Linked DNA regions of Homo sapiens: all the other regions are linked to region 4. Evidence: promoter capture Hi-C in 16 types of primary human blood cells and fetal thymus (Javierre and others, 2016). All regions are on one chromosome and are shown on one strand. The core of a region is centred on a gene start or on the middle of the fragment in contact, and the rest is flanking DNA. Distances in the headings are between cores, read along the strand shown.

What was found. The method cuts DNA at HindIII sites, captures the fragments that hold promoters and counts their contacts. A CHiCAGO score of 5 or more calls a contact.
Region 1: a contact is called between a fragment that was not itself captured here and the fragment with the promoter of ROS1 in region 4, in 1 of 17 cell types (endothelial precursors). The highest score is 5.4, in endothelial precursors.
Region 2: a fragment that was not itself captured here is called in contact with the fragment with the promoter of ROS1 in region 4 in 1 of 17 cell types (endothelial precursors); the score reaches 6.5 in endothelial precursors.
Region 3: a contact is called between a fragment that was not itself captured here and the fragment with the promoter of ROS1 in region 4, in 3 of 17 cell types (activated CD4 T cells, naive CD4 T cells and total CD8 T cells). The highest score is 5.5, in activated CD4 T cells.

Annotation. Positions count from the first base shown.
Region 1 is chr6:117,606,504-117,612,516 of GRCh38, forward strand. It overlaps the pseudogene NEPNP. Among named protein-coding and RNA genes, the nearest start is that of GOPC, 7.0 kb to the left of the region's middle. The HindIII fragment of the contact is 5,386 bases long and covers 1-4,437 here.
Region 2 is chr6:117,627,596-117,633,952 of GRCh38, forward strand. It overlaps the pseudogene NEPNP. Among named protein-coding and RNA genes, the nearest start is that of GOPC, 28 kb to the left of the region's middle. The HindIII fragment of the contact is 973 bases long and covers 3,132-4,104 here.
Region 3 is chr6:117,555,138-117,560,902 of GRCh38, forward strand. GOPC (golgi associated PDZ and coiled-coil motif containing) reads right to left here. Exons shown (of 9, transcript NM_020399.4): 9 at 5,132-5,765. It also overlaps a transcript of DCBLD1 not described here. Among named protein-coding and RNA genes, the nearest start is that of GOPC, 44 kb to the right of the region's middle. RefSeq lists an enhancer at 3,141-3,190. The HindIII fragment of the contact is 1,432 bases long and covers 1,978-3,409 here.
Region 4 is chr6:117,422,169-117,428,033 of GRCh38, forward strand. It overlaps ROS1 (ROS proto-oncogene 1, receptor tyrosine kinase), which reads right to left and starts at 3,774. Exons shown (of 44, transcript NM_001378902.1): 1 at 3,366-3,774. The coding sequence starts at 3,488. The HindIII fragment of the contact is 564 bases long and covers 3,682-4,245 here.

The DNA of each region.
Region 1 (6,013 bases), core at 495-2,994, 180 kb after region 4:
CGCATTTATCATATTATTTTGGAGCTTGTTAGACTGTGAGTTCCTTGGCAACAATAACTGTATCTTACTTATCTTTGTATCCCAGGTCCTAACACAGGACCTAGAATGTGGTAGGAATGCTATAACTATTTGTGTGATAACTTCAATAATTAAGGTATTCGATCATTCTACCTAGGAAACTAACAGTCACTTCACTTTTCAAGACATACTTGTGATACATGCTAGAGAGCATAGCTAAATATTAATATATTTTTATATTGCCTCAGAGATTAGGATATCTATAAATTACATATTAGTCTTTCTTTTCCAAACCTAAAGTTTTATTTTACAATGATCTGGCTTATTTGACTAATAAATCCATTATAATTTAGGCTTCAAGGATTCTTTTGCTTATTCCATTGTTAAAATTTACTAGATACTATGTTTTGTATAGTATATTCAACCTAAAACCAAAACATAATAAATTTTACACTATCAAAGACAGACTATAACTGCTTTTCCCCTTTTCCCCGATGTACATTCTTCATCTACCACTTCCCACAGCTCCAGGTTTGCTTCAGCCTTGTCTGAAACCACCATTTATCAACAGTAGTATCAGAGTTTCCTACTCATGTTTTCTTCTTCTTTTGTCCACTGTGAAGTCACTGTTTATTTCTCAAGTGTCAGACTGTATGGATCAAACATAGACTTTCCTTCATCACCTTCTGTTTTTTTTTTTATAAATTAGTCTACTAAGGGCCTCCGAAACAGTTGTATTCCAAATACCCTTCAACAATAATTATTTTTTCGAGTTTTGACTGAAAAGTATAAGTTATCTAATTAGAAATTTCAGCTGGGTGCCATGGCTCATGCCTGTAATCCCAGCACTTTGGGAGGTCGAGGCAGGCAGATCACCTGAGGTCAGGAGTTCGAGACCACCCTAGGCAACGTGGTGAAACCCCGTCTCTACTAAAAATACAAAAGTGAGCCAGGCGTGGTGGCACTCACCTGTAATCCCAGCTACTCAGGAGGCTGAGGCATGAGAATCACTTGAACCTGGGAGGCAGAGGTTGCAGGGAGCCGAGATTGCACCATTGCACTCCAGCCTGGGCAATGAGAGCGAAACTCCGTCTCAAAAAAAAGAAAAAAAAAAGGAAAAAGAAAAAGAAACTAAAAGTCAGAAAAGTGTAGTGAAACTATTACACAAAAAGCTCTATCACAACAATTGCTGGAGATAGTATTTGTTTTGTCCCCAGATGATTGTAACTCACTCAGAATTTGTTTGGCTTTTGTGGCCATGGTGAGCAGAGGGAGTTAGGATGAAAAGACTTCTATAGTGAAAATTTGTCACTACATGTGGGATACTCTCCATATTTGAGCTCCCTTCCTCTAGGGAATTTCCCATTTTATGTTACTTGGTGAGAGAGAGAATTCTTCTTCCATAATAAGCTGAAAATGTCAGATGATCACTTTCCTGACTCTGTGACAGGTAGAGCACAGGGCTGTGACCTAGACTCAGCTAACTAGAATTATCCACCTGAAATTTTTAACATGGAGATAGTGAGGCAGGATTGGGAGCATTCCTTTTGGTAGGGATTGGAGAGGGAGTGAAGATAGCAGTTTCAGCAGCAGCCATGCTAGTGTTGGTGTTGTGCTAGATTCAGGTTTGTGGTAGAGGCTGGTGCACTCGTGTTCTGTAGTGGCAGCAGGAATGGTGTCCTCACTCAACTGAGGTGCAATTTTGCAATTTTGCTTGTGATTCTGACTATGCAGCCTTCCTTTATTCTTGGCCATTTCCAATTCACATTCTCCAGGCATTCTTATACTTCATTGTGCTACCCAATTTTCTTTCAGTAATTCTTTTTCTGCTTTAATTGGCCAGAATTTGTTTCTGTTGCTTGCAATCCATAACTTAAACTGATACGCCAACTATCATTTGTTGAGATCCTACTTTTTGCCCATCAACTTGATAAACTTTAGTTTGCTTCATCTATTCCTTTCTCTAAAGTGGAAATTATTTCCCCCATTTTATCTTGTAGAAGAACAAACATGAGGCTTAGAGAAGTTAAGTAGTAGAAGAATTTAATTTTCTGTGTTACTTTCAACGTATGCTCTTTATGCAACGTGCTTCAGAAGGAGAAAATATATTTAAAAAGAATCATATACATAATTTGTTTAATCTTTAAAATGTCTTTTATCAGAGACAGGGGTTTTCAATTTTTTTTTTTTTTTTTTTTTTTTTTTTTTTGAGACGGAGTCTCACTGTCCTCCAGGCTGGAGTGCAGTGGCGCCATCTCGGCTCACTGCAAGCTCCGCCTCCCGGGTTCACGCCATTCTCCTGCCTCAGCCTCCCGAGTAGCTGGGACTACAGGCGCCCGCCAACACGCCCGGCTAATTTTTCGCATTTTTAGTAGAGACGGGGTTTCACAGTGTTAGCCGGGATGGTCTCGATCTCCTGACCTCGTGATCCGCCTGCCTCGGCGTCCCAAAGTGCTGGGATTACAGGCGTGAGCCACCGCGCCCGGCCAGGGGTTTTCATTTTTTAGAAGTCTTCTGTTTAGCTCCTGGCCAATCGGTTTTATTGCAGGAATAATGAGCTGATGCTTGTAATTCCAGATCAGGGAAAATTTGAGTTAGTTCGTTTCCTTTTTGGAATTCAGTTTCCTGTGTACAATGGAAAAATGTGGTGTTGATTAGATTATCTCTAAAGTTCCTTCCAGTGCTGACATCCTATGAAAGTAATAAAAATGATCCACACATCAAAAACAAAGTTAAATACTCCTTTTTTTTTTTTTTTTTTTTTGAGACTGAGTCTCACTGTGTCACCCAGGCTGGAGTGTAGTGGCACAATCTCGACTCACTGCAACTTCTGCCTCCCGGGTTCAAGCGATTCTCCTTGCCTCAGCCTCCTGAGTAGCTGGGATTACAGGTGTGCGCCACCAGGCTCGGCTAATTGTATTTTTAGCAGAGACAGGGCTTCGCCATGTTGGCCAGACTGGTCTCAAAATCCTGATGGCAGGTAATCTGCCTGCCTCGGCCTCCCCAAGTGCTGGGATTACAGGCGTGAGTACCTGGCGCTGCCAAATTCTCCTCCTAACTACAACAGAAGTTTCCGCATATTTATTTATCCTGGTATGATATGCCTTCTATGGTCATTACTCTCAAAATACTACATGCAAGATATTAGGTAACTTCAGAGTTTAGGCCAATTATTTCTTGCCCTTTGCTTTTAATAAATCAGGGAAGGCCAGTATCCATCTCATAGAGGTACACATTTGTTATGTACAGCAGCATTTTTAATGACGGCACTATGGACAGTTTGGACTCCATAATTCTTCATTGTGGGGGCTATCCTGTGCATTGTAGCCCCCACAGTGAAGCAGCATCCCTGGCCATTACCCACTAGAGGCCGATAACACTGCCCCTCTCCCCCGTATTTTGATGATAATCAAAAATAATGTTTCCAGTGGAGAACATGGTGGCACCCCTGTAGTCTCAGTTGCTCTGAAGGAGTGAAGTTGGGGAGGTGGAGGTTGCAGTGAGACAAGATTACATCACTGCATTGCAGCCTGGGTAACACAGAGTCTATCTCAAATAAAACAAAATAGAAAAGTTTCCAGAGAGAGAGGGAAAATAAGGATAAAGAAAGCAAGAGAGGGATATCCCAGCTACTTGGGAGGCTGAAGCATGAGAATGGCTTGAACCAGGGAGGCAGAGGTTGCAGTGAGCCAAGATTGTGTCACTGCACTCCAGTCTGGGCAAATAGAGTGAGACTCCATCTCAAAAAAAGAAAACTAAAAAAAATAAAATGAGAGGGAGTATCCAGCCTAGAGAATCTGAACAAACAATCTACTCCAATCCAAATTCAAATACAAAGCATATTTCTTGAGATTGCTATCTTTCTTGTGTTGAAAGACTAAAGCTAGATTCTGAGCTCTATTTTGAACACAGTTGCTGGGTGTGTCGTTGAGTTGCCATACTTGAGAGGCACCCTTGTTCCTTCACTTGGTTCCCTCTTACCCAAAGGAGTCAAGTAATAACAATCATGTAAGGTGTTGTTAAAATCTTTGGAAAAAAGTACTGCATGCTTCACACTTAGCCTTAAGCTCCAGAGATAAAAACACGAGAGCTTTATACTTGTGGTCCTTAGTCAATGTGTGAAAACTCCAAAAGTCGGCAGAAAGTGAACTAGAAGCTGAGCAATGGTGGCAGCTCCTGTATTCCTCCTAGCATAATAAAGATGAGACAGGCTTGCCATCTCTAGAAGAGGAACAACAAAACATGTATGTCCTTCAAGCATAAAGGCTGTACCTTTGTTTTATATTTTCTCTGCAGTCTGTAAGTATCAACAAGACTTTGCCTGCTATCAAAAAAAAAAAAATTGACTTTTCAGCTTAACCTAAATAAATAGGTATGTTCTGGGAAAAGACAGATCTTTTATTCTTCAAAACATTCTGAAGCTTTTTATGATCAAAGTTATTTACATTTATAATGCTAAAATCAAAAAACAACTTAAAACTCCACTAGTTAGAAAGTAGTTAAATTATAGACAGTACTTTTGATGGACTATTATTTAGACATTTAAGTTTTTATTTATAGAAACTGAAATAATATGCAAAAATATAATAGTGAAAAGAATAAAATGTAAAGTTATGAGTATGTTTACAAACATGAGAAAATAAAACTTCACAGTGTAAAATATTATAAATAATGCTAGAATTGCAGTAAAGGTATAGAAATGCCATGAAAAAGAAGAAAAAAATTATATAGTGTAATTTCAAGGCTCAAAGAAAAAGGAATCCTATGGTCACCAACAAAGGATGAAGAATGGAACTCATCACTGTGCTGCATAACAGAAAAATTTGCTGTTATCAATGGCAGATGAGAGGACAGGATTTTGCAGGCATTTTATTTCAAGTAACTGGATATGTATTTACCTTTATAGTAATGCAGAAACATGTGCAATAAGTATTACTCTTTGTCTTTTCAAAGCCTAAGCATAGAAAAGAAGAAACTGGAAATGTGATGTTTGACTTTGGGATGTGACTCAAGGTGACAATTCTTCCCTCCTTGCTGTTTTTTTTTTTTTTTTTTTTTTTTTTTTTCCAAATTTTCTTTCATTGAGCATTACTTTGATTGCTAGAAATTCTAAAAATCAAAAAGAAATTCTATTACTCAACAAAAGAAACAACAAAGTGTTCTGAAAGTCAGAATAGTTACCAAAATCTCTTTACCATTCCTTATCTGTGATAGTTAAAGAAAACAGAGGAAAAACAATTATTAAAAAGAATACAAGTCTTTGGAGAAAAGCACACAGAAATCCTTACTCTGGAAATAAAATAAATTGATTATTTGATCAAAGAAACTTTTAGCTTCCGTGAAAGGAAAATATCCTGGGCCCCCAAAATCACTAAACTAAAGGTAAAAGCCAAGCTGAGAACTACTTAGGGCAAACCTGCCTCCCATTCTATTCAAAGTCACCCCTCTGCTCACTAAGATAAATGCCTATCTGATTGCCTCCTTCGGAGAGGATAATCAGAAACTCAAAAGAATGCAACCATTTGTCTCTTATCTACCTATGACCTGGAAGCCCCCTCCCTGCTTCAAGTTGTCCCACCTTTCCAGACCAAACCAATGTTCATCTTACATATGTCGATTGATGGCTCATATCTTCCTAAAATGTATAAAACCAAACTGTGCTCTAACCACCTTAGGCACATGTCATCAGGACCTCCTGAGGCTGCGTCATGGGCGTGTGTCCTCAACCTTGGCAAAATAAACTTTCTAAATTAACTGAGACCTGTCTCAGAATTTGGGGGTTCACATTTTGGTAACCAAGGAGGGATTCTGAGTGTAGGTGTCCCTCACCTTTGACAAATCTCCTATGGGTGCTTGGTACCAGCTTCAGCAATCTTTATGACTCAAACCAATAGAACAATTTGCTGAGGCCTGGAAGCATCCCCTCCAGAGAATCCCTGATCTCCCAAAATTTGGTTGAGAACTAGTTTATTTTGCTGTACAACTTTTTTTTTTT
Region 2 (6,357 bases), core at 2,368-4,867, 210 kb after region 4:
TCAAGATTGTGACATCAGAATAGAGGAAAACTTTCAGGACCCATGGAGAGCTGAAATGTTCATGAATATCAAGCAGAATAGGAATTAACTTCATGGACTAAACTAGTAGAAGGCTGAAGTAATCTTTTTAAGTTTTGCTTAAAACATTGGTGATCCTTTGTTTTGCTTTTCAGAGTCAACAACTTGTAAGCTATTTACAAATTTTAACAATTGAATAAAGTATACTCCTATGAACAAAATTTGGAGCATATTTTTTTCTCTCTACCTTATTTCTACAGAATATGGAAACTATTTGTGAGGATTCTTATCTTGTGACAATACAATTAGTAGCATAAGTGCAATAAGAATCTGTTTTCATTTGTAACAGGACACAGTTGGAGAACTGGTTATTTTACCAAGGCTTTTACTGGAATGGTGTGTTTTCCATTTAGGAATCAAACTTATTGAGCCAATAAAACTCCTTGGAAAAACTGTCTGCTTACCTTTGTCTACACAGTTCCTGTACAGGGTTCCTGACCTGTGGTAAGTAAGGAATGTACTTTCTGACAAGTCCAGGACCCCAGGTTTATCTTGGAACCTCAAGAGGAGAGGAATTCACCCAACTCATAGGTATTTAATGGTATAAATACATGACTGGGCTTGGCTTATTCCTTCTATGGAATAAAGTTCCATCAAGACCAATTTAAGAGCCTATGTAGGCCAGGCATGGTGGCTCATGCCCTTAACCCCAGCACTTTGGGAGGGTGAGGTGGGTGGATCACTTGAGGTCAGGAGTTTAACACCAGCCTGGCCAACATGGTGAAACCCTGTCTTTACTAAAAATACAAAAAAAAATTAGCCAGGTGTAATCCCAGCTACTTAGGAAGCTGAGGCAGGAGAATCACTTGAACCCAGGAAATGGAGGCTGTGGTGAGCCAAGATCACACCACTGCACTCCAGCCTGGGTGACAGTGTGAGACTGCATTTCAAAAGAAAAAAAAGTTATGTACAAATTAATTATTCTTGCTGCACTGTATACAAATAATTAGGCCAAATATAATAAAGCAAATTAGTCCTACTATGGTTTCTCTTTAGTAAAAATGGGAAACGGGAGAGAGAAAAATTAGGTTCCAAAAACTGTAGTACACCTGTTGTTAGATTCTAGTCTTGCCTAATGCTTTTCAATTTTTATTATTTTCTACAGTTTGGATCAAATTCTAATTTTTCTTGGCTAGAAGACTTTAAAATAATGTTTTCATTTTTTTACCTTTTTTCCCATTTTTCCTAATTCAGAGTCACTGACAACTAAGCTGTGCTTTCATAAAGCCCTGCAAACTGAAGCTAGACAGCTTAAACTTCAGAAGAAAATAACAGCTGCCTTAATATTTGTAGGCCCCTTCCAGATGGAAGGCCCCTTCCAGATGGAAAATTCTATGGCTCTCTAATTTTCCCTTTACTATTCACTGCTTCTCCCTCAAAGATCCAAATCCTAAGACAAAGAAATGCCTCTCTGTGAGCCAGGTGCAGAGAGGCAGCAGGTGAGTGTACCTTACCTTCAAACAGAGACACCATCCCTTTAATTTGGTTAAGAAATGTTCATATGAGTGTCCCATAAACACATAGAGTTTTGAATATGTGGCATGGTATTTAGATCCTGGCTCAATAAACACAGTTGTCTTGTCTCCATCTGTTTGCTTTCCTCTTCTAACCCTGTAGTGTCTAACACCAGATAGCAAGTCTGACACCATTAAGTGTAAATGTTCAAGCAAGACACCTGGTTAAAGGGTAAGCTACTTAAATATTTGCTCTGAGGACTTGACATGCTTATTGAGCAGAAGGTGAACTAATCCTAGTAATGATTATACAATGGTACTTTGTAGCCAATAAGATAAAATTATGCCCCTTATTAAATTCAGTTATTGGATGAGTCAATTTGTCATTGGTTTAGTTTCACTGAATAGCAGCATTGCCACTTCCCTGACTTTAAGCTAGGTAATTATTTCTTGGAAGGACTGTTCACAACAGAAACGTAATAAAAGACAGGATTGTTTTGTTAAGGAAAAGGAAAGCTCTTTTTGTTGATGAAAGTTCTGACCAATGATACTTCTCTTTTAAAAATACTTAGGTCTTAAGTGACCATGTCTCACTTGCATAGGTTTTAAGTGACCATATCTCACTTGCATTTGGTAAATACAATGTACATTCTATTTATTGGGTTTGAATTTACAGAATCATTCAATATCTTCCAAAACTTCGGTAGAGTGTTGGGTTGCATACTCAATTCCTGCCATCCTCATTCTCAATGAATAGCTGGCCTCCCATTTTATTGACAAATCATGACAAAACTTGATCTCCCTCAGTCCCTGCTCACTGTGTACAAATTTGTCTCCATCCACTTTTGCAAACTCTTTTCTCCGGAGAGGACATGTCTCTCCTTGTATTCAAGGCCCTTGATTCTATCCTTCACACTTCTCTCCAGACCTTGCTCTCTAACTTTCTGCACCCCCATATATTCAGCTGCTCTTTCTTTACTAGCTGCTCTTTACCTGCCTTGGCCTCCAGAGTGCTGGGATTACAGGCTTGAGCTATTACACCTGACTTAATTTATCTATTTTTCTTTTGTCACTCATGCATTTGGTGTCATATCTAAGCCAGCTTTACCTAATCCAAGTTCATGAAAATGTAATGCCTATATTTTATTCTAAGATTTTTACAGTTTTAGTTTGTACATTTAGGTCTATGATCCATTTTGAGTTAATTTTTGGGTATGGCATAAGAAAGGAATTCAGCTTTATTCTTTTGTTCCCCTCTGTCCTGTTCTGTTGCTATTCACTAACTTGGACTTCAGTCTCAAGCCATGATGAACTGCTTAACTGTGTTGAGTGAAAGACACAACGAATAGCTGATTACATGTGATACCAAATGGACAATATGCTAGGTGACCCAAGTCATTTCTATTTAGAGGATTGTAGTTTTGGTTCGTACTTTGTGTCCACATGTGTAAAAAATCATTAAGTTTACTTCACTATTGCCATTCAAATGGATAAGCCAAAGTGATATATTCTCTTCAGAGGTAGAAGACAAATGGGAATGTAGTTATGGTAGCAGTCAGTTAAAATGATAGTACTTTACATCTTTTGTGGAAGACAAGAAGCTTCTTCAAATTCTTCCTAAGAAATACATAAACAATACATAAACTGAATGGGGGGATAATGGGTTATTTTATATTCTCTCTACATTTTCCAGAATTTAAAAATTGTTTGTAGAGAAAAAATGTTGTTTGATGATCAGGAAAAAAATCCAACATTGTTTTACAAACTCATTCCTGGCTTGTTTCACACAGGTCTGAAACCATCGCTTTGTGTGTATGTCAGTTTCGTTGTACATTGGATCTATCAGGAGCCAGAAAAGGGTGTGTTCCCTTTACTACTTGGAGCAGGGTCTGCCTAGGATTGAAACCAGAAACAAAGCCTTTCCTGGAGAAGCTAGCAGGAGCTATCCTGTGCTCTACTTCATTTTACTGGCCTTGCTTTTTAAGCAATATTGGAAAAGCTGCCAGTAGCCCCAAGGTTAGCTCTAGGGCAAAAGCATCTCTTTCCACATATCTTGTGTGAAGCCCTGCTTAAGCCATGGAAATGGAAAAATGGGTCTGGCATAATTTTTTTCCCTTTGTCAGCTCTGCAAACCCAACTGAAAAGTTGAAAGTCAGCAGGAGTCTTCCTCATTGTTATGTGGCACCATAATTCTATTTTCTTCAGCTAAAGGATGTTATAGCTGTAAGGCTAAAAATATATGCACTGGGGTAAGATAAACCTGGGTTAGTAGCCCAACTTTTCCACTAGAAAAGGATATACTTGGACAGGTTATTCCACTTTCTTGAGCCTTAGTTTCCCTCTCTGAAAATGGAATAATTATGCTTATACATAGGGCTTTGTAAAAATTAAATATAGTAAATATTTCTAAAATTGTAGCCATTTTAATTAATAATTAAATGTAATCTCTATTGACCCTGACCAAAAAAAAAAAGAAGAAAATGCTTTCTATGCTTAATAATAGTGATTTAAGAATATGAAGTCTATTTAGCTCAGTCTGTATACTTCATAAATAGAAATCAAGACAAATTGAAGCTTTGACACCATCCCTTGTCCATTCCCAAAATAAATTGCCCATTCTGATCCATGTCATCTCTGAGACTTACTGCATAGTTAGTAATCATTTTTTGTTTATTGTCACTCAGATATAAGTTGAAATATAATACCCAGTTCTTTTTGGCGGATCTCAACAGTCCAAGACATAAAGATATATGTCTAGAGACATTTCTGACTTTATATAAAAGATAAGCCTACAAAAAGGCATTTCAGAATGAAGTGTAAAGAACACTGAGTCTTCAGCAGGTTATTTAACTTCTTGGGCCTGAAATTCTTTATTCCTGAAATGGGAGATTTAGATTAGTTAATCCCTAAAATCTCTGCTTTTTTAAAGCTCTGTGATTTGTGTCTAGATCTTGAGCCTCTTTTGAAAAACATTAATTACAGGCCAAATGCAATAGAAAATGCTTTAGAAAATGGTGTAGCTAAGGAAGAAAGGGGTTTGCAGTTCAATAGACCTTGCTGAAATTCTGAATTCTTTCACATTCTAGTTCTCCTAGTCTCCTCATCTAGAAGCCAGTGTTGATAATAGTAAAGTTGCTGGGTTATTAGGGGATTGGTGATATATAAAAAAGCACGTGGCACTCTTAGATACTCAATTAATGCAAGAATAAAATCTCTATCATTATTGGGACTAGGACTATTCAATATAACTGATAAATCATTAAGAAAATATAAAATGTTAGCAGCAATATGTAACCCAAGGCAACTGCCGAAACCATTATGATTAAAAATATTCATTTATGGAAATTTTAACTGGAGAGTCTCCTAATGGAGTAACATATTAGAGATGTTTAAAAATACACGATAATTCACATCACATATCCTCCAAGAATATAAGTACCTATAATAAATATATGATACAAAATAAACTCACTTTGAAGGTGTTAATCATGTACTGGTATGTACTGGTATTATAAAAGTGCTCAACTGCATAATTAAGTCAAATATTTAAAAACTGTGGATAGTAAGACACGTGAAATTGTATACTGAAAATTGCAGCTTCATTGAATTCTAAGGCAGATTGAAAATTTTTTGAAGATTTATCAACCCGAAGAAAACATGGAACAATTCCTTTTTCTGCTTAAACATAACCTTACTCGTAGCACCAAATAAAGATCATTACATCATTCAGAAAAAGACATGGGTATTAAGCTCAGAGGTTGACAGGCATGTAGAGAGACAGGAGAATTTACAAAACACGAAGAAAGTATATCAGTTTTGGGAAATATCTAAATTCTAGAGGAAGGGTGGCATTAGGTCTGGAATATATGCATGAATGAACTCTTTGCTCTGCAGAGACGGAGGGAGATAACATGTATACATTTGTCTCTTTATGAAGTTTTTTCATTGGTGAAGTGAAAATTGGGTATAGAAAACAGGTAGGCTCATTTTCCAAAATACAATATAGTTGAAAGTGTTTTCAGTTAAGTGCATCCTAGTGATAACAGACTGGGACACTTACATTTTTGTAATTTTTAATGCCTTTTTAAAACGTGTGATTCATAATGTTAAACAATGCAAAATGTAGCTAGTGAAAATCCTTTGTAATCTTACCCTCTAGATTTAGAAACTACTAACAATTTGGTGAAAGATTTCCAGATTGTTTCAATTTATGGCTAATATGAGATGATACAACAAAGAACATCCTAGTGCATGAATCATTTTGCAATTTGTTAAGTATCTCTGCCTATAAGTAAATTTGCTGGGTCAGAGAATATGCAGTAAAAGTTGGCCAATAATATGTCTCTATCAATGATGTGTGAAAGTGCTTAGAATATTTTTCATACCTTACACTGATGTTATCAATCATAAATAAAAATATTCAGGATCTGAGTTTCAACCGTTTTCCAAGATATAATTTAAAATAGAATCTGAAGGAAAATCTGAAGTATTATTAGTATTGTAATGACAGTGTACCTGGTATTTCTTAAACAATATTCATTTATTGCTTTTTCTTCCCCTTCCCTGCCTCCACATTTTTTGTAGCTGTCTGACTTCACCTGAATGTAGGCTTTAGAAGATTCTATTCTGCTGGCCAGTGGAACAGAGTCAGTAGAAAATGACACCCTCAAAACTCTGAGTACTTTGAAGACCTTAGAACTCTGGAAAAATAAGTTGAGTCCCTAGTGCTCTCCCAGCCAGTCTTGAAGTGTTAAAACTAAATGATAACTCAATAAATGTCCTACATGGATCAGATTTTGAAGGACTTAAGAAATTAAAATTCCTC
Region 3 (5,765 bases), core at 1,444-3,943, 130 kb after region 4:
GTTTAGATTTTAAAACTTCCTTGGGAACAGTTTTGGTAAATTACATTTTCCTAGAAAAGTTTTCAAATTTATTCCTATAGAATTGAACAAAGTAGTCCATTATTATCCTTTTAGTTTTCTCTTTTATGGGTATTTCTCTCTTATTTCTTGTTTTGTATATTTGCATTTACTCCCTTTTTTCATGACTAGTTTAGTCAGCAGTTTGCCTTTTTCCTCTGAAAAATCAGGGTTTTTTTTTGTAGTTCTCCTGTTTCAGAAGCCAACAACCCATTTGTTACTGCCTTAGGCAGAGGTTAAAAATGCCCTCAACCATGGTGAACATGACAGTAGAGGGCACCTAGTGAGCATGACACATCCTCAAATGTCACAAAAGGACACAAATATCCTTGTTGCAGTATTGCTTCCTAAAGAATATGGGGACAGTATGCACACAAGCAAGAAATAACTTATTCCGTATTTGGTGGGGGCAGGGGAATGCTATAGTCTTGACGATCTAGAATTCTACTATGTAACTCTAGGAGTTCTCTCATTCTATAGTCACTCCACTACAGCCAAACAGTTTCTTGTGAAATTCAAACCCAGCACAATCATCATTTTTAGAAATCAAAACTGTATCAAGCCAAGGGTCCATCAAACCGTGCACCTTTTAAGAAAACTTTAGAAAAATTCTACTGCAGTTGGCAAGCATGGAAAAAATAAAAATAATTGTTGGAATAGGAGGACTGAAAGCTGACAATTTTATCTATATTTCCCCTTTCCTTCTTTGTGGCCTATTAAAGTAGAATTAAGAGAGGGATTTGAGTCTTGGCTCAGACACTTAACTAGCTGTGTGACCCTGGAAAAATCAGCCTTCAATTTATTGATCTTCACAGGAGTATTTTATTTGATGAGTTTCAAAAAGCCTTACACCGCTAATAAAAGTAAAATTAATAATGCATCTGGAATCTGCTGCCCCCTGCTGGCAATTTACCAAATTGCAAATTCTACCTTTCCAACGCATAGACTCCAAGTTTTAGTGTCGGCCTATATTTTATCTAATTTTCCTTGTTATAGTCCATTACCTATCTTCCTTTTTTAAAATATATTTTTATCTTTATAGGTTTAGGGGGTAGAAGTGCAGGTTTTGTACATGCATATATTGCGTAGTGGTGGAGTTTGGGCTTTTAGTGTAACCATCACCTGAATACTGAACATTATACCCAATAGGTAATTTTTCAACCCTCACCCACCTCCCACCTTCCTATCTTCTGTAGTCTCCAACGTCTATTATTCCACTCTATATATGTCCATGTGTACCCTTTATTTAGCTCCCACTTATAAGTGAGAACATGTGGTAGTAAACTTTGTTTCTGAGTTAGTTCACTTAAGATAATGGTCTTCAGTTCCATCCATGTTGCTGCAAGACATGATTTCATTCCTTTTTTCATGGCTGAATAGTATTCAATGGTATATATTTACCACATTTTCTTTATCCAGTCATCCATTGATGGACACTTAGGTTGATTCCATACATATCTTTGCTATTGTGAATAGTGCTGTGATAAACATACGAGTGCCAGTATCTTTTCAATATAATTTCTTTCTTTCTTTGGGTATATGCCCAGTAGTGGGGTTGCTGGATCAAATGGTAGTTCTATTTTTAGTTCTTTGAGAAATCTCTATACTGTTTTCCGTAAAGGTTGTACTAATTTACATTCCCACCAACGGTGTAAGTGCTCCCTTTACTCTGTAGCCTCCCCAACATCTGTTTCTTGACTTTTTAATAATGGCCATTCTGATTGGTGTAAGATGATATCTCATTGTGGTTTTAATTTGCATTTCTCTGATTAGTGATGTTGAACTTTTTTTTTCATGTTTATCATCCACTTGTATGTTTTCTTTTGAAAAATCTCTGTTTTTTGCTCACTTTTTATCTTCTTACTTAGACGCCAGAGGTATTTCTTTTACAACCAAATGCCCTCTTAAAACTTTAAATCAAGCTTGTTGTTCAAATCTTCCTTCTTTCCTAATTTGCCTGAAAGTTTTGTTGCAATCTCCCACTATGATGATAGATTTAACATTGTAGTAAATTGGTTCTTTAAGAATTTAAGTAACCTTTATCCCTAATGGTTTTTTTCTTAAAGTCTGTTTTTAAAAAATATAACTGTATCCATGTTCTTTTGGAGAAAATATGCCCAGTGTATATTCTTTCTCCTTTCACTTTCAAATTTTTTATGTCCTTATGTTTTAGGTATGTTCCTTTTAAACAACATATTGCTGGATTTTTTCCAATTTAAATAAAATGTTTTCTAATTTCAGTTCTTTCTTTTAATAAGTTTACACCCTGATCAAGCACTCTCAAAAGTCAATTCCAGACTGGGCACGGTGGCCAGTCTAATCCCAGCACTTTGGGAGGCGGATGGATCACCTGAGGTCAGAAAGTTCAAGACCAGCCTGGCCAACATGGTGAAACCCCGTCTCTACTAAAAATACAAAAATTAGCCAGGCGTGGTGGCACGCACCTGTAATCCCAGCTACTTGTGAGGCTGAGGCAGAGGAATCACTTAAACCCAGGAGATGGAAGTTGCAGTGAGCCAAGATTGCACCATTGCACTCCAGCCTGGGCAACAAGAGTGAAACTCCGTCTCAAAAAAAATAAAAATAAAAAATATAAAATTCAGTTCTAGGAGTACTCCTTTGGTTTTTGCCAGAATGTGCTAGCTAATTCTTACACTTTTTGTGTAGTTTCTTTTCTCCTTTATCAGGCCCAGCACATCTCCCATCCTGGCTTTACTAGGATTTAGCCCTAGTTACAGGCCTGGCAGCAGACTAGGTAGGGGCAGGTATTGCCTTAGGGATGTGGTTAGTAGCAGCCTCTGTAACATCTTGGAGCATAGACAAGGTACAAGGTCTTATTAGAGAAGCGTGGGCTTCTTCTTAAGACCAACAGTCCAGTAGAGATTGCAAAGTCTCTCAGGTGCAGCCATCCAGATCTCCCCATGGTTCTAGGTTTTCCTCACCAGGGCCTTGACTTTCACAAAATAGAAGAGGTTTCGCTGAACATTCAAGTGTCTGAAACTCAGCAACTCTTAACACTTAGGTGTTCAGCCTGAAGCTCAGCTGTTTCAATCCCTCCATTGTAGGAGGTAAGGCCTCCTTGGGAGCTGCCCCCCTCCATCCATTTCTGTAGGTCATTAATACAATCCTGCTGTAACCGGCCAACTCTGCTATTCTTGTAGATGTTGTTCTCCCACATTTTTCAAATGTCTGCATCACTGACCCTCCTGGAGAGTTCCCCTCTCCATAAGCTGGATTTTTTCCAATTTAATAATTTTTTCCAATTTAAATAAAATGTTTTCCAATTTCAGTCCCAAGTCTCCAAAACTCTCCCCAAGTTGAGTGGTTTGCTAGGACTCATCAGACTAAGCAAAGCTTTATTCACAATTATGATTTATTACAGAGAATATAAAGCAAAATGAGGAAAGGGAAAAGGCATATGGGCACAGTCCCAAGAAAATCAGGTACAAGCTCCAAGATTCATTTCCCAATGGAGTCACACAGGACATGCTTAATTCCTCTAGCAATAATGTGTAACAATACATCAAGTGTTGTCCACCTAGGAAGCTTGCCTGACTGAACCTAGGAGTCAAGGTTTTAGGGAAGTCAGTGTAGGTACCCTCTGCCTAGCATGTACCAAAATTCTAGATTCCCAGAGGAAAGTAAGTGTTCAACAAAAATCCTACTGTTTGTACAAACACTTCAGGCACAGTAAACCGCACTTACCAGCAAGGGGATAATGGGAATACTCCTGATATCCAAATTGCTGGACGCTAGCCAAGGTCCAACCTTGCAAGCAGACCTAAAGACAACAGGTTCAGGCCTGTTCTGTTAACTCTTTTCTGCACACCATTTGTGAAATAGCCACTGAGCCATGATTTTGTGCCAACGACTAGATAAACTATACTCACCAACCAGATGTCACTGTCTTTACCCTTTGGGTGGGTTCCTAATGCCCATCTTATTACCTGTTTCCTCAAATCTCACTCATGGTCACTTGTGTTAATCTAGCCTCTCTAAGAAGCAGACGCCAACACCAAAAAGGGATCTGCTGTGCAACAGATTTATTAACGGCAATGCCAGTGAGGAAAAATAGGTAGGAAGCTGGAGTTGATTGGAGGCTGGAAGGCAATGAGATCACAATGGAGTTAAGACCCAAGGTGAATGAAAGGAGGAAGGAAGGTTGGGTGAAAGCAACTTGGACTACAATGTAATCCTAAGGGAGTTTGGCAAGACCATCGTGGAGTGCTCCAGCTAAAGTTGAGGAGTCATCATATAATATCCCTGTCATAATCAGTCACTGACTGGCAGCAGCATGGAGGAGCATAGCCTCACCATGTACACAGGGATGGATTTCAGACCACAGCAGCTGGACCTTCAGTAAGCTATGCTCCCTCCTGCACGAGAACTGACAGATGCATTCTCATGGCTGCTGCCGTGGTGATTATAGCTCTCAAATCACACCTGAAAAAGGTTCATTATTGAACAAATATTCAGCACCAACAGTGCACGGTAATTTGCAATACTTTTAAAGTGTTTCTTTAAGGTTAGTTATAAAACCACCTAAAATAAAATACTGATTAACAATGAAAATACAAGTTCTCTTTAAAATTTCATAAACTGACCAAAAAAAAATTCATAAATTGACCAATATCCTATGGGGTTGTATTCTGGGGAAAAGACTTCTTTTCAAATCACTTGGTGAATTGGGAGCTTAAATCAACACACGGAAAGCATATATGTATTAGCACTAAATCAAGGTTAGTCAGTGACAAAAATGTATTTCTAATGTTCATAACATTTCTAAATGTTCATAACTCAAGTAATTCATTTACAAGTATTTTCCAAAAATTATTTTACATATAACTTAGGAACTTCTAAATCATATATACTTAGATGTCAAAATGGAAGAATACCCTTTTAAATAGTATCTTAAAAACAGGATTGATTTTCTAACTTTCATCAATGTTTTCCTCATAGATAACAACAGCTGGCAATATTTATAACACAAAATTAAGCCAAGTCCTTTGCACAGACTTTATGACATGTTGGTACAAATAATAGAACTACTAGAAATAAATAACAAGCCAAAATATTTAACGTCAAGGAAACAAAATGTTTATTTAAAAAAATGAGATCAATATCATTTTAATGTAGAAGATGCCATCTTTATTTACAGGCTAATAAAAAAATATTAAACTCAACTAGATATAATACATTATCATAAATGCAATAGATTTGAGGCCAACCATAAGTGTAAGACTGGATAGATGGAATAGGGATTACATAATCAGGATGTCAAATACTGTGCATCTTACACATGAATCACATGAAACCTTTTTGTTTCTAAACATGAAAACAGCATAAGTCCACTGCAGTGGGGAAAAAAACAGCACCACAGACAAGCTGTGCTAACTTTCGATAGCTGTTGACTTGTAATTATCAAGACTCACAAAATTTTCGTCTTTCTCAAATTTATTTTAACAATAGTCTCACCACCAAAATGTTGCTTTTCCATCATATTCATAACAGAGATACTGTAGAAGAGAATTTTAGAGGTTAAGTGTAAATATATACACGCACACATACAACCCTCACATTTTATTAAAACGTTTTCTCAACCATTCTGTTTGTGTATACATGTGTGTATTTCTCCTTCTGTCCCCTTCTCGATGAAATGGCTTTGCAACAGTTCCCTCCTTACTTGTTTGGTTTTGTCCTAGAAGTTT
Region 4 (5,865 bases), core at 2,524-5,023:
CTAGCTAATTTTTGTATTTGTTGTAGAGACAGGAGTCTCACCATGTTGCCCAGGCTGGTCTCAAACTCCTGGGCTGAAGGGAACTGTCCGCCTCAGCCTCCCATAGTGCTGGAATTACAGGCATGAGCCATCGCACTTAACCAAAAGTCATACCTTTTTACAAAATATATCCTGAAATTTATTTGAATCTGGCAGTTATGTAGGAATTTTTTATGCTACATGGATAGCAACTCATTGGTTTGAATTGTCATCTTTATCATATTTCACATTCTTTATGTACATGGTTTTATTTCTTGATTGTATTCTGTTTTACTCACAGGTTTATTCCTGTAGCAATAAAAACTATGCTAATTTGTAAATATTTTATAAAATTTCTGAATTATGATCTTATTATATTATTTTGTTTTAATGTTATATATTGATATACAAGACAATTTTTCATGTCTGTACATTAATTTTTTAAAAATCTTCCAAATCCTATTATTTCTAATAGTCTTTCAGTTGATTTTCAGTTTATTTCTTTGGAACTTAAGATACAAATCAAAAATAAATGTATTGTCATCACCCTCTAATATTATAAAAGCACATCATGTTTGTAACAGCCTTTAACTGTCTAGTGATAGAAACCTTGATATCTCAGTATTTGATAACTTACTTTAGGGCATTGATTACATAATTCACTTCTTTTGTATTCCGAATTGCATCCACCACAGAGCTGAATATACATAGATACCTAGGAAAATTTATTGAATGGAATCCATTCAATAAATTGATATTGAATGAAATTTATTGAATGGAATTGATACTCCTGAGCCCTTCTCAATATTAGTTCCTCAGTTGTTGTGATTTGTTAATTCAAAAAAAAAAGGGGGTTTGTGATGTAATTCAGGAATGGAAAACCAAACATCGTATGTTCTCACTGATAAGTGGGAGCAAAACTATGAGAATGCAAAGGCATAAAAATGATACAATGGGCTTTGGGGACTTAGGGGAAAGAGTGGGAGCAGGGTGAGGGATAAAAGACTACAAATATGGTGTAGTGTATACATGGCTGATGGGTGCACCAAAATCTCACAGATCACCACTAAAGAATTTACTCATGTAACCAAATAGCACCTGTTCCCCCAATAACTTATGGAAACATTAAAAAAGGGTTTTGTTGCTAAAGATGGGAAAATTATGATTAAACAAAGCTTTTAACATGTTATTGTGCCCTGTGAATCTACAAAAAGAGGGCATAGCAAAATACACTTCCACAAATGATTCAACCGTGAATTCTTTTTTCTTTATCATAAAGGATCTCACAATACTAGAGTTCTGAAGAGCATTAATTGTTTGTTGTTTTCTGCAGCACATGGCTTCTAGAATTCAAAAAAACTTTTCAGTTAATACTTTCAACTAGTACATGCAGATCTCTGTTAACGTAAGATAAAAGTAATGTAAAATACCAATGCTCAAGCATAGAACTCTGCTTCGTGCAATTTGGCCCACAATTCTAACATTTTATTTTTGGACAAGACATTCTTGTGGTGACTTTTTTTTTTTAAGAAAACATTTCTCAATATCAAGAATCACCCAATAAAATTATAGATGACCTTCAGAGTAAATGTCCATGTTTTTAAAAATGATGCAGAAAATATAATAAACTTGAGCACTTTGTATATCCTCTCCTGTGAACCATGGTTACATTCAATTGTACATTCACTTCACTTTTGTCCCTCCAGGCCCTATGTGGGAACATGTAGTACTTTCACTGGTCAAATTGGCAGACCGTGTCTCTCTTGCTGTTGCCACACATCAGCTGTGCCATTCTCTGTAGGTGGTGAACGGAAGGCAACTCAACAAAGGAACAAACTGTCTATTCCTACTGCCAAACCCTGGAAGCAAGGAGCCCACACAAAAAGATAAGAATAAATAAAACGACAGTAAAATAAAATGGAGACTGCAATATTGGAAACAACTAAAATCAGTTTCAGTAGCAGGGAAATTAACAAATAAATTATGGTGGTACATTCATATAATGGAATACTCTAAAGATAATAAAGATTCTGTTTCTAAAAAAATCTCAGGGTCTAGGGGAAAACTCACAATACAATGTAATGAAAAAGCTGGTTGCATAGCTGGGTGTAAATTATAGATATATATGTATACATATATATATATGAGGAAAAATACTAAAAGAAAATTCAATCAAAAGATTACTAGGGCTAGAATTAGAAGTTTTTTATTCTTCTGTAGTTCTCTATGTTATAAATATTTTATTTAAAATGTATACTCTTATTATAATTAGAAAAAAGTTAAAATCTTTTTTAGAACATTTAGTTTTCCATTCAGTAGTTGAAACATTTAGTAGTTCCATTCTTCCATTTTTAAGTTTGGGTTACAAATATAAAAAACTAAAGCATGCAATTCTATATTAAAGGCAATGAAGTCTTCGGCAAAGATTTATATAAAATACTAAACTTTTAAAAAAATGCTACTAACCATGGTAAACCTAAGTAGTGTTTTAAACTACAGTTTAAATCAAAAGTGTATAAGTGCAAGTTTCTTTTTAATCTGCCACATAATTCTATCTCCAATACTTTAGAATAATATAATGAATACTATATTTAGTACTTGCATTATGTTTAAAAGTATGGCTATAGATAGGGTCATATGCAAACTATCATGATATTTTATTTGTCTTTAGACAGGAAGAGTGCATTTTCTCTGTCTATAGAGTACTTGGTTTTTAAAGTTAATTCAGTGACTGTTTTAAGCACAACTAAATTACAACTGAAAAGAGATGGTACAATAGTTAGAGAAGGGATGACACCCAGAAATGAGAATGAAAGCATGAATTTCCATATAAAAAACTCACTAACTAAAATAATAAATGCACAAACAGAAATAAAGAAATGTACAAATAATTATTGCTTTAAAATATTATTTTACATGGCAACTGTATCTGCTTCCTTTTTCATCCAGCTCCCTACACAGCTGGAATTAGCAGGCATTATCCTGTGGCCAAACCGATTTCAGGTTTCAAGACAACTACTAATGACTTTGTAATAAATAAGTTTAAATAGAAAGTTTTTAAGTGTGCAAAATTGGCAAAATTGATTCCATTTAAACCTCCTTTACCCAGTCCTCTAGCCCAAAAAATATATGACCACATACCCTAAAGAAATAAAATAGCCTGCTTTATCTTCTGCAATTATAAGGGCTCCTAACTTATTTAAGAAAAAATAATCTATCTTGCCTTGTTGCCACCACTTCTCATAAGAAAACTCCTCATAAAGAGAAAACAATTCTATCAGTTATAACAAGCTGAATGCTACATGTTCTAGTTCCTGCAAAGACAAATATTAGATTGTGAGACTTACCAGATTAGTTACACACGACTTTAGGCAGCTATTTAAAACTGTACACTGCACCACAGAAATCCATAGGCAGCCAAGAGTTGCAAAATTGACAAGCTTCGGAATAAGACAGTAAATGTTCTTCATCACTTCACCAATGGCAGATTTTTAGATGGCCGGTCTAATTTTCTCCATTTTGCTATATGAATTATTTGGGCTTCATCACTTCAATTGGAGGAGTAGCTGATGGATTTTGCTTTGTTTGTTTTGCTATATTAGGATATACTTGCCTTTTGAAATAATACTTAGCCTTTTTCATTTAGACCTTTGAATGCTTGAAAGCTTGTAACAGTTCCATAAGAGCTATTTCATAACAGCTTCCTTTTACTCCCATAAAGTCACCCAGTGACTAAAGGTTAGTTCTTAGAAGTGCACTTCACATGGAAATTAAAGAAAACGAATTGTATTTCAGCAAGGGTGTGACACATGCAGTCTGAAACTGGAACATTTCAGTGGGTCGTCCACCACCTTACTTCTCTGAGCTCTTTTCAGCTCTGCAGGGAATTGGGTTTTGACCACGTATGCTTTAGCAAACAGTAGCACTATTATAATAAAGAATTATTGGAAAAATAGAGGCACCCAAATCAAGCAATGCAACTGAGAGAGAAAACAGAACTCAGAAGCCAAATACATATTTTTAAATTTAAGAGCAAACAAAGCTGAAATTAATAGACAAATACCCTGGGAGAGAGTTAAAAACAAGGAAGTTGGTTAGAGTACTCTCAGAACTTTACTACATATTAACTAAAATACTGACTTATCAGGTCTATCGAGACAGCTGAAACTAGTTACCAGAAACCTAAGATATGTTCAAGTGTCTGCTTTGAGAAGGAAACATTGTACAAGCTTCCTTCCTGCCTGCCTTCCTTCCTCTCTCTCTCTCTCTCTCTTTCTTTGAGACTGAATTTCTGTCTGTCGCCCAGGCTACAGTGCAGTGGCATGATCCCAGCTCACTGCAACCTCCGCCTCCCAGGTTCAAGCGATTCTCCTGCCTCAGCCTCCCGAGTAGCTGAGACTACAGACGCCCGCCACCATGCCCAGCTAATTTTTGTATTTTTAGTAGAGATGGGGTTTCACCATGTTGCCCAGAGTGGTCTCGATCTCTTGACCTCGTGATCCGCCCACCTCGGCCTCCAAAAGTGCTAGGATTACAGGCGTGAGCCACCGCGGTACAACAGGCCAACCTCCTTGTTTTCTTAAATAAATTATACTAAATGTAACTTAACCTTTTCTTAATGATATAAGGTTCTCCCTATGAGTAACACATGCATGAGGTTTTGTTTTGAGCTGAACGTCTTTTGATTGGATTTTTGTTTGTTTGTTTTTTAATTTTTGTGGGTACATAGTAGGTGTATGTATTTATGGGGTACAGGAGATGTTTTGAAACAGACATGCCATGTGAAATGAGCACATCATGAAGAATGGGGTGTCCATCCCCTCAAGCATTTATCCACTGAGTTGCAAACAATCCAAGTATGTTCTAAGTCATTTTAATATGTACAGTTATTATTGACTGTAGTCACCCTGTTGTGCTATCAAATAGTAGGTCTTATTTATTCTTTCTACATTTTTTGTACCCATTAACTGTCCCCATCTCCCATCCCCCACCCCACCCACCACCACCCTTCCCAGCCTCTGGCAACCATCCTTATACTCTCTTTGTCCATGAATTCAATTGTTTTGATTTCTAGATCCCATAAATAAGTGAAAACATGCAATGCTTGCCTTTCTGTGCCTAGCTCAATTCACTTAACGTAATAATCTCCAGTTCCATCCATGTTGTTGGACGTGACTGAATATGGCTGAATAGTTCTCCATTGTGTATATGTACCACATTTTCTTTACCCATTCATCTGTTGATGCATACTTAGGTTGCTTCCAAATCTTAGCTATTGTAAACAGTGCTGCAATAAACATTCACATGCAGATATTTCTTTGATATACTGATTTTCTTTCTTTTAGGCATATACCCAGCAGTAGAATTCTAGATCATATGGTAGCTCAATTTTTAGTTTTTTGAGGAACTTCCAAACTGTTCTCCATAGTGGTTGTATTGATTTACATTCTCATCAAAAATATACAAGGGTTTCCTTTTCTCCACATTGCCACCAGCATTTGTTATAGCCTGTCTTTTGGACATAAGCCATTTTAACTGGGTAAGATGATATCCCATTGTAGTTTTGATTTGCATTTTTCTGATGATTAATGATGTTAAACACCTTTTCATATGCCTGTTTGTCATTCGTATGTCTTTTGAGAAATGTCTATTCAAATCTTTTGCCCATCCTTTGATTGGATTATTTGATTTTTTTTCTATAGAGTTGTTTGAGCTTTTTATTTATTCTGGTTATTAATCCCTTGTCTGATGGGTAGTTTGCAAATATTTTCTCCCATTCTGTGGGTTTTCTCTTAACTTTGTTAATTGTATCCTTTGCTGTAAAGAAGATTTTTAACTTGATGTGAT